Linked DNA regions of Homo sapiens: regions 1, 2 and 4 are each linked to region 3. Evidence: promoter capture Hi-C in 16 types of primary human blood cells and fetal thymus (Javierre and others, 2016). All regions are on one chromosome and are shown on one strand. Each heading gives the region's core, a stretch centred on a gene start or on the middle of the fragment in contact. The rest is flanking DNA. Distances are from core to core; before and after follow the strand shown. Region 1 overlaps RBM27-POU4F3 (RBM27-POU4F3 readthrough). Region 2 overlaps RBM27-POU4F3 (RBM27-POU4F3 readthrough). Region 3 holds the start of PLAC8L1 (PLAC8 like 1). Region 4 overlaps RBM27-POU4F3 (RBM27-POU4F3 readthrough).

Evidence for each region. Contacts are between HindIII fragments. The CHiCAGO score rates a contact against its expected background, and 5 or more counts as called.
Region 1: a fragment that was not itself captured here is called in contact with the fragment with the promoter of PLAC8L1 in region 3 in 1 of 17 cell types (non-activated CD4 T cells); the score reaches 5.1 in non-activated CD4 T cells.
Region 2: a contact is called between a fragment that was not itself captured here and the fragment with the promoter of PLAC8L1 in region 3, in 1 of 17 cell types (activated CD4 T cells). The highest score is 7.7, in activated CD4 T cells.
Region 4: a fragment that was not itself captured here is called in contact with the fragment with the promoter of PLAC8L1 in region 3 in 2 of 17 cell types (activated CD4 T cells and naive CD8 T cells); the score reaches 8.5 in activated CD4 T cells.

What each region holds. Positions count from the first base shown.
Region 1 is chr5:146,306,570-146,309,701 of GRCh38, forward strand. The region is part of intron 18 of RBM27-POU4F3 (RBM27-POU4F3 readthrough); the gene reads left to right. Among named protein-coding and RNA genes, the nearest start is that of POU4F3, 31 kb to the right of the region's middle. The HindIII fragment of the contact is 461 bases long and covers 1,494-1,954 here.
Region 2 is chr5:146,247,556-146,250,879 of GRCh38, forward strand. All of the region lies in intron 8 of RBM27-POU4F3 (RBM27-POU4F3 readthrough), which reads left to right. All of the region lies in intron 8 of RBM27 (RNA binding motif protein 27), which reads left to right. Among named protein-coding and RNA genes, the nearest start is that of RBM27-POU4F3, 46 kb to the left of the region's middle. The HindIII fragment of the contact is 5,614 bases long and covers 1-3,324 here.
Region 3 is chr5:146,103,871-146,107,319 of GRCh38, forward strand. It overlaps PLAC8L1 (PLAC8 like 1), which reads right to left and starts at 1,707. Exons shown (of 4, transcript NM_001029869.3): 1 at 323-1,707. The coding sequence starts at 441. RefSeq lists a silencer at 1-2. The HindIII fragment of the contact is 7,482 bases long and covers 1-3,449 here.
Region 4 is chr5:146,285,932-146,288,912 of GRCh38, forward strand. The region is part of intron 18 of RBM27-POU4F3 (RBM27-POU4F3 readthrough); the gene reads left to right. RBM27 (RNA binding motif protein 27) reads left to right here. Exons shown (of 21, transcript NM_018989.2): 21 at 16-2,981. The coding sequence ends at 99. Among named protein-coding and RNA genes, the nearest start is that of POU4F3, 51 kb to the right of the region's middle. The HindIII fragment of the contact is 776 bases long and covers 1,105-1,880 here.

The DNA of each region.
Region 1 (3,132 bases), core at 474-2,973, 200 kb after region 3:
CAGCATCTGCCTCCCGGATTCAACTGATTCTCCTGCCTCAGCCTCCCAGGTAGCTAGGGCTACAGGTGCATGCCACCATGCCCAGCTGATTTTTGTAGTTTTTTTAGTAGAGACAGGGTTTCACCATGTTGGCCAGGCTGGTCTCAAACTCCTGACCTCAAGATATCCACCAGCCTTGGCCTCCCAGAGTGCTGGGATTATAGGTGTGAGCCACCGCACCTGGCCAAAAGCAATCTTGTCTGATTGATTAATCAGATGATGATTTTTCAGAGGCATGAGGTTTAATTGTTTTTACACTGATTGGTTTGGATTTTGGTAGCACAGTTGCAGAATAGAATTAATAGTAGGTTTTGGAGGAAGGTTGCAGTTGAGAAGTGTCACCTGTCAGCTTGGCTGAGCAACAGCAATTTTCAGTGGTTACTCATCCACAGCCAGTGCTAATTTGGATTGGACATACAGTGAAACAAACAAACACAAGCACTGATATCCTTCATGTTACCCTTTAACAGGCCTTCTGCAGATAGTGAATTCAGAATCACTCAAGAGTCTTTATTTAGTCTGGCTGTTGCAAAGGCTTGAGGGTTATCCAGGGCATCAGATGGAATTCTCAGCACACAGTGGGACCTACGAGACTCTGGACCTTCCCTCTGCAGCAGAGTCAAAGCAAACCTTCTCAGTCGTCCAGGCCACGTCTGTTTTAAAGGCTCCTAAATATACATAAAATTTTTTCAGAAAAAATACTAAGATGGAACTATGAAACTGGCATATTTTAAATCCTCACCTTAAATAATGTAAATGCTATTTGAATTTAAAGAAAAGGAAGAAAAGAAGGAAGACAAGTGAAGAGGGAAAAGAATAAGAATGACAGTGACTTTAAGTATAACCTCATTTAGAGAAAAATCTCAAAGATCTAAAGGTCTGGCCCCAAAAAGCCTGTCAGCCAACCTTTGTGGTAGGTCCCAAGCCCTAGTGAGCTTTGTTTGGAAGGATGGAGGCTGGGCAAATGCCTACATTCAGTGGTGCATCTGAAAGGGTGGTTTCTTCATCAAAACTGTAATGAAGAAGGATTTGGATGAAGGTTACATTCTCAGTGCTCCTTTTACATTTCCATCCTACAATTGGTGTCTGGGTGAGAGTATCTTGTGGGAGGGAACAGGCAAACTGACAGCATCCAAACCAAGCCGAAGGCATCCCTCACTCTCCCAACTAGGAAGCAATGGTATGGTTGTGAGAACACAAATCCTAGAGGCCTGCTTTCAAATCCTGGCTCTGCACCTTCCTAGCTGTGAGAAGTTGGCCATGTTACCAAACTTCTGAGCCTCAGTTTTCTTAGCTGTAAACAGAGGATAATAATGACACCCTCCTCCCCGTAGGATTGTTATGAGGATTAAACAAGATCACCCTCTGAAAGCACTGGGCACAGTGCCTGGCATAGCATAAATGTTCAATAATACCACTAGGTATTATTACAAAACGATTACTGGCTGAGCTCAAGCTTACAGAGCCAGGAATGTGGATATGTGGGAAGCTGTGCTTTCTTGCCTACTAGGACAGCCATTAACAGCCAGAAGCATTATGTTATCCAGGAAAACCCAAAAGAGAGCACTCACTTTATTTTTTAAATCATGAAATATTTCAGACTGCTATAAAGTTTAGAAGAGGATATAACATACACCAAAGTTACCCATCACTCAAGAAATGAAATGTATCATGAGCAATAAAATGCTATGCAGTTATTAAAATGAATGAACTAGATCCATGTGGATAAATCTCAAAAACATAATGTTGATCAAAAAGAGCAAGTGGCAATAGAAGGCATATAATGTGATGCCATTTATATCAACTTTATAAACTTGCACAGTAATGCTATGTATAAATTGTTTAGTGATGCATGCATAGGTAGTAAAACAATCAAGACATGCAGGGGAATGATAAGCAATGCTTGTCTTAGGAAAGCTTTGAAGGATGGGAGCCCTTCAATTCTCAGGTGTCCTGGCTTTGTTCTCAGCAGGGCCTAGGTCAGGAGCTCCTCTCCCTGCTGTCTTTACACAGATGTTAGCCCCTGTGGAGGCAGAACTCCAGGCAAGCAGTGTTAAATACACTGAAAGCAAAATTCTCCCTTTGACTGTACTCGGCTCCCATTAAAGTCCAGGGGCGCTCTCTCTGCAGGCCTCAGTCTCTTTTTGACGCCGCGATGCCCCCTGCGCATCATGACGTGACATATCCAACCTGAATTCTGAAGGTTGGATGTAACATAAAAGCAGCCAACCAACAGCATAAATGTATATGAAATGAAATCAATAGAAAGTGTATTTTTTCCTTCTATTGAAGCTACTCCTGCGAGGGTACATCATAGGAGCTAGGACAGTGCTAGAGAGATACTAGCAGCAGGCAGGAGGCAGGAAGGGTGTGAGCAGGGGTGGGGGGAGCAGTGGAGGAGGGAGTCAGTGTTCACATTCACTGTGTGAACCAGGGCTTAGTGAGAAACCTCCTTGCTTTTCCCTCATCACTTAAAAAACAATCAATTATCCATGCTTCTGTGATAAAATAGAGATTTCTGCTTTGTTCACTTCATTTTAGCCTAAGAGGTCATGGCGAAAAAGAATGAGTTCTGAGATTGCATTTTCTGTCGCAAAAGGTTGATAGCAGATTATGAATTCATGATAAAATTAAAAACTGAAATCAGGCAAAGAGAGAAATGGTTTTGTTCATGCATTTTTTTCCCTGCTAGCTTCACAATGGAATTTTTATATCTCATAATAATAAAATTCTAGGCATTGCAATGAGTCCTTTGCATCGGTGATTTCATTTATCTCTCATGATAGACATACAAAGTGGTATTAGCATGCTTACATGAAACCAGAGGTACGCTGTAAGCCAGGATTGAACTCAGGGAGCCTGATTCCAAAGTCTGTGCTCTACTTGTCACCATACAATATGCCTGCCCCGACTGAAATTCGTGCTGTGAATAAATGTTCTTTGTGTACTAACGAAGTAATCTTCAAACTGCAGAAACTTTGCCACAATGCTCTATTGCTGGCAGGGCCTTGAGAATGATCTAACATGACCCTTTCTATCTTTTTTATTTTATTTATTTATTTATTTATTTATTTATTTATTTTCTGAGATGGA
Region 2 (3,324 bases), core at 51-2,550, 140 kb after region 3:
GTTGAAGAAATAGATCATTTGTCCTAAAGAATTTTCTCACATTCTAGACTTGGCAGATTGATCTTCTGGTGTCATCTAACACATTCCTCTATCCCCTGTATTACCTGTAAATTTGAAGTTAGAGCTAGGTATTTGATAAAATTCAATTTTTTTCTTTTTTTGGCAAGAACATTTTATAGATGGCGTTATGTACTTCCTACACAGTACATTATAATGCTCATGATGTCTGGTTGTCTCCTTTCTGTGTTATAAATATTGATTAGTGTGTAAAGGTGTTTTCATCCTGATCCATTCATTTTAAAACTTGCTTGATGGTTTCAACAGCCATTTTTGATCATTGCCTGGATTTGCTGTTGTATGTGAAACTCTAAATCTATAGTTTCTTCTACATTTATTGCTAGCATTCCATATAGTTGACTATAACAACCATTTGGTTAACCTGAAATGCAGTTTTTACAGAAGAGACATGATATATGTGTATTTTCTTTCATTTATCAATTTTAAGAATGAGTTGATTCCCTAGTTTTTTCCAAAGGGAACTCCTGTTTTTTTTTTAAGTATCATTATGAACTCATGAATTTTTAACATTTGATATGTTTCACTCCATTATAGTCTTTTTTGATGTTCAGATTGTCTCATCTTTAATCAATAGGAGCCTCTTCATGTTGGCTTCTGCTAGTTTTTTTTTTTTTTTTTAATTTTTGACATGCCAGTTTTTGATAACTCTCTTGCTTCTGGAAGGACAAGGTATACTAAGGTGTACCAGGCTCATCTTATAAATTTTCTGCCCTGACCTAGAATTAGCCCTTTGTCTAAAGAACTCTGTTGCTTTAGAAGTAGTATTTAGAGACTCAGTAGGAATTGTTTAAGAAAGTCAGGCTACATTTGGATTAATTGCCATCTTTTTGAGGTATTTGTTTTTTATTTTGAGGCAGAGGCTTTCTCTGTTACCCAGGCTGGAGTGCAGTGGTGCAGTCTCGGCTCATTGCAACCTCTGCCTCCTGGGTTCAAGTGATTCTTGTGCCTCAGCCTCCAGAGTAGCTGAGATTACAGACATGCACCACTACGCCTGGCTAATTTTTGTAATTTTAGTAGAGACGGGGTTTCACCCTATTGCCCAGCCTGGTCTCAAATTCCTGAGCTCAAGGGATCCACCCGCCTTGGCCTCCCAAAGTGCTGTAATCACAGGTGTGAGCCATCGTGCTCGGCCTTTCTGTATGTTCTTTGTCAGTAGTTTTAAAAACAGACATTGGGCAAAGTAGCCTTTTGGTTTCCAGTTTACTTTGAGACAGCTATTATTAATTAGACATACTTAATTAGATAGTATACTTAGTACATCAAGTGATGTATCATACATTTAAAGTAGTCATATGGACTAAGATTGTACTTCCCATTTTTCTATATATGTATGTATTTCTATTTTTTAATTAATTTTTTTTCTTTTAAAGACAGCATCTCACCCTGTCACCTAAGCTGGAGTACAGTGGCACAATCGTGGCTCACTGCAGCTTTGACCTTCTGGCTCAAGTGATCCTCCTGCCCTAGCCTTCCAAATAGCTAGGACTACAGCTGTGCGCCACCATGCATGGCTAATTTTTAAAATATTTAGTAGAGACAGAGTCTCGGTATGTTACTCAGGCTGGTCTCAAACTCCTGAGCTCAAGTAATCCTCACACCTTGGCCTCCCAAATTGTTGGGTTTATGGATGTGAGCTACTGCACCTGGCCCCATTTTTCTCTTTAACATACTACTACATTCTGCTGATAGGTCACTCTTCACAAGTAATTCCCTGCCATTGATTGTGTGCTTACAACTATTTGTTCCCCTCATTGAGACTATGTTAAATTGGGCTGGGCACGGTGGCTCACGCCTGTAATTCCAGAAGTTTGGGAGGCCGAGGTGGGTGGATCACCTGAGGTCAGGAGTTTGAGACCAGCCTGGGCAACATGGTGAAACCCCGTCCCTACTAAAAATGCAAAAAATTAGCTGGGCGTGGTGGTGGGCACCAGAAATCCCAGCTACTAGGGAGGCTGAGGCAGGAGAATTGCTTGAACCTGGGAGGCAGAGGTCGCCGTGAGCCCAGATCATGCTACTGCAGCTCCAGCCTGGGCGACAGAGTGAGACTCTCAAAAAAAAAAAAAAAAAAGAAAAAGTAAAAAAAAAAGAAAAAAAGAAAATATGTTATATTGTTTTTGCAGTGTAATAATTAGCTGATTCTTTTTAAATGTACTTTTTTTTCCCCATCAACTTTTATTTTAAGTTCCAGGGTACATATGTAGGATGTACAGGTTTTTTACGTAGGTAAATGTGTGCCATGGTGGTTTGCTGCACAGATCAACCTACCACCTAGGTATTAAGCCCAACATCCATTAGAAATGTAAATTTTAAAAGGGTTAATGCTAAGTGCACAGTTATACAGTATGATTTGTTACTTCCTCTTTTGCTTCTTATATACGAAGAAAAGGGTAGTGAAGTTTAGCATCTCCATATTCCCTTTAGGGACTTACTGTGAAACCAAGTGGTTGCTTTGTAGCCTGTCCTATTAAGGTGCATTTAAAATCTTTAGGAATTTTACAGCTTTTAAGGACATTTCACCAGGTATAAAAAAAATTCAAGGCTGGGCGCTGGGTCCGGTGGCACTTTGGGAGGCCGAGACGGGCAGATCACGAGGTCAGGGGATTGAGACCATCCTGGCTAACACGGTGAAACCCCGTCTCTACTAAAAATACAAAAAAATTAGCCAGGCATGGTGGTGGGCGCCTGTAGTCCCAGCTACTCGGGAGGCTGAGGCAGGAGAATGGCGTGAACCCGGGAGACGGAGCTTGCAGTGAGCACCACTGCACTCCAGCCTGGGTGACAGAGCAAGACTCCGTCTCAAAAAAAAAAAAAAAAAATCCACTTTATTTTGTCTTGTGTCACATAGTAAATGTCTGATGTTGGACATATATAATAACTAAATCATATAAATATGTCTCAAATGGGGTTGTCGGTGAAAAAGATACTGTTAAATGGACACCCAAAGGGATTTTGCTCCTTGATACCTTATCTTTTTCTAATCCTGTCCTTCAGATTTTGGCTTCATTGTGTGTGCATTCTTGCATTAGCCTATATATAAATCCTAAATGTGTTGTCTTTCAAAAAGTGCTTCTTAATATCCAGGATAATTTCATGTGTCCAGTGCTGTGCTGGTCTGTTTATCTGTTTTTTTTTTGTCCTTTTTTTTTTTTTTTTTTTTTTTTGAGACAGAGTCTTACTCTGTCGCCTAGGTTGGAGTGCAGTGGCACGATCTTGGCTCACTGCAACCTCCACCTCCCGGGTTCAAGC
Region 3 (3,449 bases), core at 457-2,956:
AGCCAAAACCCTTGAGTTTTCATTTCAAAAGGGTGGAAATGATTGGCAGTCTCTAAAAATAAAGTTCCACTTGGTCAGGGTTCAACATTTTAAGAATAAAGAGATACCATTTCACCCAAGCCAGCCCTTTTCTTGTCACCAGCCAAGAAAGGCCAGAAGGAACAAATCAGTTGCCCTCTTTTCAAGTTTGCATGGAGAAAAGATAGCAACCACTTTCTTCCCAAGCCCAGTTTTCTTTTCCCTGGTTCCTTATAAGTAGAGGTTGATTCGATAGTCCAACTAAAGAGCAAAAGCTAGGGGAAAAACTCACCCTATTCCCTACCTCAAGTTGGAAATAAAATGTTCATCTTCAGATGACATGTGTGACAACAGAGGTGAGTATATGTTGAGTAAGGAAAGATCCTCAGGACACCTGAAGAAGTTACTTCCAAACCAATTCATAGTGAGAAGTGTTTTCTTGTCCTTTGGGCTATCCTTTTTCCCTTTGGCAATAAGCTGGTTTCTAAACTTCGGATTAGTCCAAAGTGAAACATCTCTTGAAAGAATGTTCCCTTAATATTCTGGAACCTGAGGTCATAGCAGTGTAACTAACAGACATCTTTTTTCTTTAAAAACAGGTATACACCTAACTGTGGACACATTCATCTTACTAATCTGTAGGGAGATATTGCTGGAGTATAGAGTAAATAGAAGAAAAAGACTTATCTTTGGTGGAAAACTCTTTAAGAGATGCCTCTAGTAAACATTTATCTAGCTAAGTGCCACTTGACCGTTCCTTGGAAGATTCAGAAGGCTGAAAATTTCTGCCATGCCATGTGACTGAGAAGCAGCAGAGACCTCTCTTCATCCCCTGAACTGCTGGTCCAATTCAGCCAGATGATGCAAGTCCCATAGCCAACCCAAAAGCAGGAGCAAAAAAAAGTCTTTCAGCGCAGGTATTGTATTTGAATCCATCTTATGAAAGGTGGTCTCCTCAAGTTTGAGCTATGGTAGATTGTCACAAGCCTCAAAGCCTTTTCAGAACTTCTAGAAATTCTCTGCTCTTCCATTAACTTCATTGATAATGCCAGGAAAGTGGCATTTCTTTCCTACCCAGTCCAGACGGAATCTAGTAACTGAAGCAAGGCTTGCCTGGTGATGTCCTCACAACAGCTCTGAATCCTCAAGGTCTCAGGAGCCTCTGAATCATGCCTCTGGCACATGTCTTATGGAGGTGTGGACCCTAGAAATATTAGGAAATATCCTAAGACAAAAAATTAGGCAAAATTTCACGTTGAGGAAAGGGCTCTGCAATCATAATTTGACATTACATTAGAAAGACATCAGGAGGATACTGCCAATTATATCATATATTCTTTTCATCAGACCCATAGAGAATGGTTGCTTAGGGTTCTGAACTTCAAAGCATTTATTGAACCAGGTTGTTAGGAAAAGCCTATAATACCTTCCAAATCAAGATTCCTCAGACATAGCTTCATAACTGCCTTCAATCATGGGGTTCTGGGCAACTGTCATTGTCTTCTTAACAGTAAGGATGTACCCTACATTAAGGACAGGTATGTTTTTTCTGCTTACTACTCTATTCCAAGTGCTGACCACAGTGTCTGGCACATAAAAAGCACTCAATAATTTGTTGAATAAATGTGCCCTACATGAAAATTCAGGTTTATAAGAATAACAGAAATTAAGAGGTGATTACTAGCTTTGCAAAAAAAAAAAAAAAAAAAAAAAAAGATTTACAGTAAGATTCCTTTGAAGAGTAAACCACCATGGTACATATAAGCTATGACTCCATATTTTTACATTTCATTTGCGCCCAACTTTTCTAATCAAACGTCTATTGTATGAAGTGACTAATCCACATGCTACACAGCTTTTTCATTTAAAAATAAAATGAAAAGAATAGAAAAGGCATGTGCTTTATAAAAGAATGCCAAATATTTATGAAAAAGAAATAATAGCATTAGAATATCACCATTTTGCATAGCCCCAGCATAACAACATATCAGGAAGGAAATTCAGAAGCATTAAAACCATTAGATAAAAAAGATTAGGAACCAAATATTCTCAAGGTGCAAAAATATAACTATTCCACATATTTCTAATTGCAAAAGAGAAAATGTACCTTAACTATGAAAAATTCCAGAAGTACTCAAAATGCATATTTACATTGGAAAGTTCTGAAAGTGTAAGAAAAAAAAAGTACCCTTACAATAAAAGCTCTGGGTGTGATTTTAACAAATATGCCTTTACATCAGAAGGTCCTAGAAGTGATCAAAATGTATCTTTAACATTACCCTTCACCCTTCCTCCATGATTGTAGGTTCCTGAGGCCTCCCCAGCCATGCCTCCTGTATAGCCTGTGGAACTGAGTCAATTAAAACTCTTTTTTAAATAAATTACCCAGTCTCAGGTAGTTTTTTATAGCAGTATAAAAACACACTAGGCCAGATGCAGTGGCTCACACCTGTAATCCCAGCACTTTGGGAGGCTGAGACGGGCAGATCATCTGAGGTCAGGAGTTTCAGACCAGCCTGGCCAACGTGGTGAAACCCCATCTCTACTTAAAAATACAAAAATTAGCCAGGCGTGGTGGCAGGCACTGTAATCCCAGCTACTCAGGAGGCTGAGGCAAGAGGATCGCTTGAACCTGGAAGGCAGAGGTTGCAGTGAGCCAAGATCATTCGACTGCACTCCAGTCTAGATGACAGAGCAAGATTCTGTCTCAAAAAAAAAAAAAAGAAAAAGAAAAGAAAACACACTAATACAAGCTCTATGCACAGCAGAGGGCCATTACAAATCTTATTGATGCTGTAAATTTTGGGGTGAAGTATTTTCTACCTGACTGGGGTCCATATAAACTTCTCCTTTCTCTGACCTCCTAATGGCCCTGGTAACACTGGCCTTGGTCAAATACATTCCTGTTTTCCATGCACGAATTCTTTGTTGTCTAAGTGCAATGAAGATGGAGGCCAGGGCTCTAATTCAACTCTGCTGCTAATACATAGGATCTTGAGCCAGTGACTTTGACCTGTTTCTTCATGTGGCTTCCTTGCTATTCCTTCAGCACACCAGCTACATGCCCCTGCCTCAGGGCAAAAAATGCTTTTGACCACATACGTGCTAACAAAACTACATATGCATTTACCCTCAGACCCACAAGCCCACTTCTACAAATTTACTCTGAAGATATACCTCCACAAAAGTGAAATGACATTATTCATGAGGTTACTCACTATATCATTCCATACACATTCTATAAAATATTAAAAACTTAGAAACAACCTATATGTCCATCCATGGAGACTGGTTGAATAAACTAAGGTACACCTTTACAATAGTATTACATGAGCAAGGAAAGAAGAGGGGCAAAAGAGGAAGGAGGGAAGAAAAAGGAAGAGAAAAAAAGATTTTTTCTTTTTTTTTTTTTTTTTTTTGTGATGGAGTCT
Region 4 (2,981 bases), core at 243-2,742, 180 kb after region 3:
CCTCTCTTTCTTCAGGAAACAGAAACCTCAGATTTGTTTTTGCCTGATGATGACGATGAAGATGAAGATGAATATGAGTCTCGCTCATGGCGAAGATGAAATCTGATGCTAGCTGTATAATTTTTAGGAATATTGTTTAGAAGAACAACTTTTAAAAATTATTTAAAAGAAGTCAATGAGCCAAAAAAAATTTTTTTATTTTTCTTTTCAACACAGTAGGTTCAAGAACAGCAAGTTTGCTATTTAAACACATCTCATAACTGTACATGATATTAAAGCACCAAAGGCCTAGTGACTTTTACACAGTTGTGAAGATCCACAGCAATGACATGGATAATCTCTAGAGCCTTATTTTCCACACCACCTTTTTTTTGTTGCTGTTGGTGTTGGATTATGATGTAAATGACAGGGTGTTCAGAAATTTTATTTTGGATTATAATCTACTGATAAAATTTAATTAAATGTCAAAATCACCTGTAATCTTTTAACTCTCAGTTGTTATGGATGGGTCATCAGACAGTAGGAAATATTTGTAATTAAAATACCCTTTTGCTTTCAAGAGTGGTCTTGGAAGAAAAATATGTTTATTTTAATTTTAATTTTTTTTTTTTTTTACTTTGGAGGAGCCCAATTTGTATTCAGTCTAAATTTGTTTTTCATGGTTTTTATGTGTGGTAGTACTAGTTCAGTGAAAATCACAACAAACTGTGTGTTCTTAAATGCTACAGCAATGGTAGCTAGCTCTATAGTATTTCCATTCTCTTGTCATATGAACTCCTGGACTTTTCCTGCTACTGATTCTTAGTTTGCTTTGATATTTAGTGAGCGCTGGTTCGGCTGGTCTTTTTAAAAATTTTTATAACTCAGAATGTAAAAGGCTTTCACCTATTGCCCCTTTCTCGTCCCCCTTTTCTTCCTCTTGCCTTTCTATTAATAGGCCTGACTTAGTCATCATTGATATAAGTGGTTCATTTGGGCAACCGCAGGCAGTCTCCAATAAAAGGTTCAAACCAGCACCTGGATAAATAAGTGATGTTTTGATGAGAATGATGGAAGGATTTTGGGGAGAAGAGAATCACCAGCTTTATTTTTTCCCTCTTTTGAAGCTTCAGTTCAGTATAGTTACACAGAAGGGTTTAAAAATGTCTGAAATTCTTTTCCTAAATTTAAACCATGATGGTGAGGTGACTGGGGGGTGGGGGGTGGAGGTGGGAGGGGGTTGAGGGCTGAGTATGCTAGTAATAAATGGGAGTCATATATGACTTTGTTCAGATGACCTTATTTTTTCATAATTTTGTAGCTTGTTGCTATCCATGAACATACGCATCCCTCAGTAGACAGTTTCCTTTACTGTGTGCATTTTTACTGTACACTGTATAGAGTAGAGTATCTGTTAAGTAAAATATATATGTAAATTTATGTCTTCGTGTTCTGAATGTTAGATGGAAAAGCAGAGGAGCAACACTACACTGTACTGACCCCTGGGAAAATAAAATGATTAATGTACCTAGGCTGTCACTTTTTCAAGGATATACACATCTGTGTTTTTATATATGTGTGGTATGAAAATTTGAAACCTCCTGTTGTCTCCAAAAGGGTCTTGGTGACCACTATATCAAGGATTTTGTTTGCTGAGGTAAAGACAATTTCTCAATATAGAAACTATTCACTAAGAACTTAAAACCATCAGGATTCTAGATTTACTTAGCTATAAGAAGTTAAATCCCACGTTCTGATAATCTTTATTCTTCTACATGTTTTCCTGGAATGATGTGTCAAACCAGGGTCATTTTTAAGTTCATATAATTTTCTTTCATAATAATGAGGACTTCCTTTTTCTAGGTTATTGTTATATTTCTAGTAACACTGAAGGTAAAATAAGCTTATAAAAGAAGGAAAACATCAGAATGGTGTATCTAGAATACACAATCTTGCTCCTTACTCCTCCATCATCTCTAATGAAATTTTTCTTGATGTCTGTGGCTCAGTCAGTATATATTTTGAAAGATTCATTGTGGTGAATATTTTGAGTCCTGACAGTTTAAACGTGATAGAGGGAACAAAGGATTTATATATTTTTTGTACAAAGTTTTTTCTTAAACTGTATAATTTTGTAAATAATTTGTTTGGGTTTTTTTTTTGTGTACTAAAACTACCAGCGTATAGATTTCAATAAGAATTGTTGTATTTTTGTATTTGGAAACTGAAAATTACAGTAAATAAATGGAACTCTAAGAAAAATTTCAGTAGACAGTTCAACAGAATGAGATTCCTTTTCATATGATTTTTTTGACCTCAAAATGGACATCTTATTTCACTCTCAGTAAAAAGTTGAAAATTTGACTTTTTAGTATTGGGGGCAGAAGATAGAAGTGTGTTAAAGTGAAAAACAGTTTTTTCAGTAAGGTTTGAGGCCCTTTCTATAAGTTTTCAGTACACCTTAAACAGGACTAAAAATACTTTAAAAGTGTGCTTTCAAAGAATTTTAAAACATGTTTGACTCAAAGATGAATTTGAAGTGAGTTAATTATAATACTGGAAAACTTCAGGTTAGCATAAAATAGTTTATATATATCCCCTGCCCCCTTTGGGATTTACTTCCACCATCAAATCTTCAACTGTTAGAATTTCACTTAAAAGTGAATAACTGCCATACATGTTTTCTTGGCATCTTCATTTACAGAAATAACATACAGCATCTAAAGCAAGTTCTGTCCCTCTTAATGTGTATGACATCTTTTTAAGTAGCTGATCAGCAATAATAGCCACCAGTTGACTAGGTCAGCCTGATATACTAGTGGATCACTGTCCAAGATAAAAAGGTAACCCCAAGTATTGCAAAATTTCCCTCAATTTCTTTATGTAACATTGAAGAAATGTTGTTACCAGCTAAGATGATAAATTGGAAAACAGTCTTGTTAAGGTGAAAGGGGTCCTTGGTGATGGATCATTATTTCAAAAAAGAAAAAAATCATGTGAAA